Linked DNA regions of Homo sapiens: region 2 is linked to region 1. The links are contacts of gene promoters, found by promoter capture Hi-C in human tissues and cell types (Jung and others, 2019). All regions are on one chromosome and are shown on one strand. Each heading gives the region's core, a stretch centred on a gene start or on the middle of the fragment in contact. The rest is flanking DNA. Distances are from core to core; before and after follow the strand shown.

Region 1 (3,162 bases), core at 261-2,760:
GGGCATGGTGGCGGGTGCCTGTAATCCCAGCTACTCAGGAGGCTGGGGCAGGAGAATCGCTTGAACCCAGGAGGCAGAGGTTGCAGTGAGCCGAGTGCCATTGCACTCCAGCCTGGGCAACAAGAGTGAAACTCCATCTCTAAATAAATAAATAAATGAATAAAAATAAAGTCTGTTATTCGTTTGGCTTTATTTTTGGTATACTTAACAAAAATTAGCTGGGTGTGGTGGCACATGCCTGTAATCCCAGCTACTGAAGCAGGAAAATCGCTGGAACCTGGGAGGCAAAGGTTGCAGTGAGCCAAGATTGTGCCACTGCACTCTAGCCTGGGCAACTCCATCTCAGAAAAAAAAAAAAAAAGGACTACTAAAAGAATGAAAAGGCAGGCCACAGAGTGACAGAGGTTATCTGCTTCTATGTATATTACAACGAAGGACTTGATTCCAAATTATCTATACATAAAACTCTTACAATAAGAAAAACATAGTGACCCAATACAAAAATAAGCAAACCAGTTGAACAGGCACTTCACACAAAAGAGGATATCCAAGTGGCTGATAAGCATGTAAAAAGATGCTCACAATGAACGGTCTTCAGGGAAATAAATGCAAATTAAAACCACATACCTAGGGGATTTGAAACAAGGCAGTTCTGTTAACCTCTCTTGCTGTATTTACTAATATGTAAATTGGAGATATTAATGCTTATGCTCAGGAATTTACAGTCTGAAGAAGGAATAAATGACACAACAGAAAACTGATAATTATGTATGGAAACACAGAATTATATACTAAAAGTCCAAGGTTAGAGACATAGTGGCCATATCTTTTACCCCTAAATCAACTCAAATCAAATCAAATCAAATCCTGAGCTCAAGCGATCCTCCCGCCTCGGCCTCCCACACAAGTACTGGGATGCCAGGCATGAGCCACTGCACCTGGCCAAAAAAAATATTAAAGAAAGAACGAAATTGGTAATCACAGCGCATCTCAAGGCAGGGAAACTAAAGGGCTGAGGCCAGATGGAAAATGTACTTATCACTGTGCTTATAAATAAAATATTTACATTTTAAAACAAACAAACAAAAAGTCCGCGCGGTCCTAGGTGAATCTGGCCGAGGCTTCTGCGTCAAGGACGGCGCGGGTCAGCTGAGGCCAAGACCGCAGGCACTGCCCTACCGCTCTCCAGATCACAGCTCCGCCTCTGCAAGGCCCCGGGGAAACGGGCATCCCTTCTTCAGTGAGCAAAGGAGAAAGACGGAGCCCGGTGGCTGGGTGTTTCGCCCAGGATCACCAGCGAGCTCAGAGTCCTCCCCACGACCGCCCCAGGGTGGGCATTTTTAAAAGCGGAGGAAGGGAGGGAACACACTCTTTGGTGCTGTGCCCACCTTGCCTCGCACAGAGCGGGCGCTCACAGGCTTTGGGGGCCCCGCCCGGACCGCAGTGGGGAGAGGCCGCCCCATGCCCCGCCCCGCCAAATTTAAGAGCCTTCGCCGAGCGCCAGGAGGTTCCCAGACAACCGGTCTTGCTCGCTGCCTTTTGCAGAATCTTCTCACTTCTCCCGAGCTCCCTTCCTTGCGTCCGTCCGGGCAACGGCCGCGTCATGCCTAGCCCCAGGCCGCGAGGCAGCCCGCCACCCGCTCCCTCGGGCTCTCGGGTCCGACCTCCGCGCTCTGGCCGCTCTCCGGCGCCCAGGTCCCCTACTGGCCCGAACACGCCCCGCGCTCCCGGACGCTTCGAGTCCCCTTTCTCGGTCGAGGCCATCCTGGCGAGGCCCGACCCCTGCGCGCCGGCGGCCTCCCAGCCGTCGGGCTCCGCCTGCGTCCACCCGGCCTTCTGGACCGCTGCTTCCCTGTGCGCCACCGGGGGTCTGCCCTGGGCTTGCCCGACATCGTGGCTGCCCGCCTACCTGAGCGTAGGTTTTTACCCTGTGCCAGGGCCGCGCGTGGCTCCCGTCTGCGGCCTGCTGGGCTTCGGCGTCACAGGTACTGCGGTCCCGGCGCCCGCACGCGGGGGACTGGGCGGGGGCTGGAGAGCCTAGGTCGCCACTGCCGGCGCCCCAGTGCAGGAGAGGGCACTGAGTGTGAGAATCACACACGGCTGGAGTGGGAAGGGGCTCTGCCACCGTTTACCTTGCAGTTGAAGCCGAGGACCGCGACAGTCTTGCTGAAAAAGACCCCGGCGCGAGGCTTCCCCCGCACGCTGCTGAGGTGGGAGAGGGTGGGTGTGAGGGCGGCGCAGCGCCTGAATGCGGTGGGCAGGAGGCCAGCGCTGGGGCTGCAAGGGGACCCAGCCCTGCTCCCGGTCTCCGCGTCCCTTGACTCCCTCGCACACCCCGGGGTAGCGCTTAGTGACAGAGACGCTTCCCAAAGCGGCTCTCGACCCGAACCAATGGCCCTGTTTTTTTTTTTTACGGGGTAGGGGGAAGTGGACGCTCCGGGCGGTGCTGTTGAGCGAGGAGCTGTTAGGAGCTGGTCAAGGCTCACACCCCACTACCGCCTCCACTGCTCACGTCTGTGAACTTGAGCTACACACTTCGCTCTGAGCCTGCGTGCATGCAATGCTCTTAAGTAGTGCTTAAGGGCCAGGCACTTAAATCTCATGAGAAAGTAATTGTAAGGTTGGGCGCGGTGGCTCACGCCTGTAATTTCAGCACTTTGGAAGACCGAGGCGGGTGGATCACCTGAAGTCAGGAGTTCAAGGCCAGCCTGGCCAACATGGTGAAACCACATCTTTACTTAAAAGACAAAAAATTGGCCGGGCGCGGTGGCTCACGCCTGTAATCCCAGCACTTTGGGAGGCCGAGACGGGCGGATCACGAGGTCAGGAGATCGAGACCATCCTGGCTAACACGGTGAAACCCCGTCTCTACTAAAAATACAAAAATTAGCCGGGCATGGTGGCGCGTGCCTGTAGTCCCAGCTACACAGGAGGCTGAGGCAGGAGAATGGCGTGAACCCGGGAGGCGGAGCTTGCAGTGAGTCGAGATCGCGCCACTGCACTCCAGCCTGGGCGACAGAGCGAAACTCCGTCTCAAAAAAAAAAAAAAAAAAAAAGACAAAAAATTAGGAGGGCGTGGTGGCGCGCGCTTGTAATCCCAGCTACTCAGGAGGCTAAAGCAGGAGAATCACTTGAACCCGGGAGGTTGAGGTTGCATTAAGC
Region 2 (3,140 bases), core at 525-3,024, 190 kb before region 1:
GGCTGGAAATGAGGCATTTGGTCCCTAAGTTTTGAGAGTTCGACATGACATGGAGCGGGGAGAAGGAGAGGGGAGGGAAGCAGTGCTGTGGGGAGCTCAGGGCTGAGAGAGGCACAAATGCTCTCTGGGAGAGCCCCAGGCCCATGAGGGAAACCCAGGCCCTGGCATCCGAGGCATTCCGCAGCAGCCAAGGGAAGAGGGCGCAGGAGCAGAGGAGAAATGGAGAGGGCAGGCAGGACGAGGGCCGGACCACCAGGGCCAAGCCGGGCCCTGCCTCTCCCAGGCCACGTGCATGGAAGCGGCAGTGCTGTGCTTAGGGGAAACCTGGGAAGGGAGAGGCCGTGTATAAGAAGCAACCACGCTGGCGGGTTTTTTCTGGAAAGATACCTGAAGAAAGGGAGTGACGAACCGCAGAGCCTCAGGGACAGCCTCAGTGCACCGGCATAGCCGCGGTGCTTATGTATAAATTGGGATCTCTTTGCCACACACCGAAGGGGGAAAAAGTTCCCATCTTCAAATGTTAAGCTTAAAATAAGACACTACATGGTTGCCAGTGGATCTGTGAAATCTGCTGACTAAACTGGCACCAGCCTCTGGGAGAAAACCAGCTCGTTTCTCCTGAGCTCTGGGGGGCGAGCAGGGTAGGGCGAGGTGACTCCCGGGCAAAGTGGAAACAGCGTAGGGGTCAAGCTGGGGATGTGCACCTGGGCAGAAGGCAGCTTGACTGTGGTTTCCAGAAGCTTCTCAGTTGAGGCACCTGCCAGCCTTACTCGCCCCTTCCCTTCATCACTCAGGGACCCAGTTCCTAGCACATTCGCTGGCACCCTCGTTTCTATTTTGGTAAGCATTTTTAGTGGCTTCTGCATGCGTATATTTTCTTACCCACTCCATCAGACCAGGGGCTTTCCTAAGGTGTGGACTGGAACCTTCACTCCCCTTCAGACCAGGCATTTGCTTAAATGTTCAGTGCTACCAGGCGACAGCAGGGCCTTGGAGAAGCTGATGGGGCTGCAGGAAGCACTGGAGCAGCCAGCATGCTCTTTCCACACAAGACGAGGCAGTGGCCCAGGGGTGGGGAGGAGTGGTGACGGACCATGTTGCTTGTCCATGTGAAAGTGCCAAGGTGGGAGGCCCAGGTTCTTCAAATCCAGTGGTTCCTCTGGAGACTCAGCCTCTGGCTTGACTGTTCTGAACCTCAGGATACAGATATCTGGGGCTAGGAAGTGGGGATAGGTGAGCATTGTCATTTCAGTTCTGGCTGCCTCGTAGAGCTGCTGGGAGGTATCCCAGGCCATGCTCCCCATTTCGCCTCCATCAAGTATTCACACAGGATCTTGGGGGCCAGGGCATCCTCTTCTTACACCACATGCGTTTATTCACAGAAGGATGCTTGCTCCAGGCTGGGAAAGGATCGGTCCTGTTAGGACATTCACAGCATCTGCTTCAGCAATGAACCCCTGAATGGCAGGGGAGTGGATCAGCATCCAAGTCTCCCACCTGCCTACAGGGCCATAGTGACCCTGCAATGATGGGCTTGTCTAGGGTAGGGTAAGGAGAGAGTGGAAACGTATGGGGTGAGCCTCAGTAACTCCTTGTGAATGGAAGACAGTGCTGGCATCTGCTGGGTTGGCCAGTTCTTCCCACTTGATGGCAGCTGATAATTGTGTAAGGGTCCATTTGGCTTCTCAGGGAAAAATGAGCCCCACATTCAACTTTTGCCATTTCAAATACCCAGTTACCCAGTTTAACAAAGTGATGATACCACCAAATTGTATATCTTTTAAAGTGTTGATGGAATATTTATAAAAGTTATTATGGCATTCTTGTTTGCCTATCACCATTCTTCCCTTCTTTCTTACTAATAGAATCCTTATATAATTGGGGATCAACTATATACCCAGCTAAATTCTAAATGAAATGTATATACCCAGCTAAATTCTGAATGAAATATATGCAGAACATGGAATGTTGCATGGAAATTCCCAAAAGGCTCCTTAAAGAGAGGCTGTATCTTAAAGATAAATGTATTTCGGTTGGGAGATATAGCCTACTATTCTTCTTTTCTTTCTCCTCTCTGGAATGTGAATGTGATGGCTGGAACTCCAGCAGCCATCTCGGGCTATGGGGTGACTTTTTACAATAGAAGCCAGTACTGAAAATGGTGGTGTAGAAAAATGGAAGTCTGGGTTCCTGATGATATTGTGGGGGTCCTCCTTATCTCCAAACTTCTTTGACATAAGAGAGAAATAAACTATTTTGTTTAAGCCACTGTTATTTTGGACTTTGTTACATGCAGATGACCCTGATCCTAACTGACATATTCAGATACCATGCTACAAAGAAAACCACAATAAATCCCAAATGGCAAAATTTGGCAAAATTGTAGAGGTCACTTTCTCTGAAAATAAGATAAGCTAGAACATAACAAAAGAACACATTTTTTAAAACCCAACCACTTAGAATTTAAAATGTGTTCTTCTAATTGACTAAAGAGGATTTGAAATTATAATTCCAAGCTTATTTAGAAAATAACAACATAAGATCACTATATATGAAAACATATCAGATATAGCCATGTTTTAGATATATTCAGAGGCAAATTCACAGCACTAAACACTTTCATTAGAAGGAAAATAAATAAACTAAGCATTCAAGGCAAAAAGTAAGAAAACCAACCACAAACAAAGAAAGGAGGGAAAAAGGATATTATAAAAACAAAAGCATAAAAGAATAATTAGAATACAGAATTGATAAATACATCCAAGAGCTGATTCCACGACATAGCTTTCACAAATCAATCAATTGTGCAGTGGCACAATCAAAACTCACTGAAGCCTCAAACTCCTCAGCTCAAGTAATCCTCCCACCTCAGCCTCCTGAGTAACTGAGACCACAGGCGCACACCACCATGCCTGGCTAATTTTTAAACTTTTTTGTAGAGATGGGATCTCCCTATGTTGCCCAGACTGGTCTCAAACTCCTGGGCTCAAGCAATCCTCCCACCTTGGCCTCCCAAAGTACTGGGATTACACGTGTGAGCCACCACTCCTGGCCTCAGTTATTTTAATAAAGGAGATGGAGGTGTGGAGTGGAAAAAGACTCAAATCAATCAAAAGAGAGATCATTATATTTAAAGACAT

Evidence for each region. Contacts are between HindIII fragments. The study calls those that stand out against the background at their distance.
Region 2: a fragment that was not itself captured here is called in contact with the fragment with the promoter of NOTO in region 1 in 7 of the 25 tissues and cell types used here (H1 embryonic stem cells, IMR-90 fibroblasts, bladder and 4 more).

What each region holds. Positions count from the first base shown.
Region 1 is chr2:73,201,064-73,204,225 of GRCh38, forward strand. It overlaps NOTO (notochord homeobox), which reads left to right and starts at 1,511. Exons shown (of 3, transcript NM_001134462.2): 1 at 1,511-1,985. The coding sequence starts at 1,604. RefSeq lists an enhancer at 2,354-2,905. The HindIII fragment of the contact is 15,336 bases long and covers 1-3,162 here.
Region 2 is chr2:73,008,301-73,011,440 of GRCh38, forward strand. All of the region lies in intron 6 of SFXN5 (sideroflexin 5), which reads right to left. LOC107985897 (a long non-coding RNA gene) reads right to left here. Exons shown (of 2, transcript XR_001739535.2): 1 at 883-3,140. Among named protein-coding and RNA genes, the nearest start is that of SFXN5, 62 kb to the right of the region's middle. The HindIII fragment of the contact is 3,728 bases long and covers 1-3,140 here.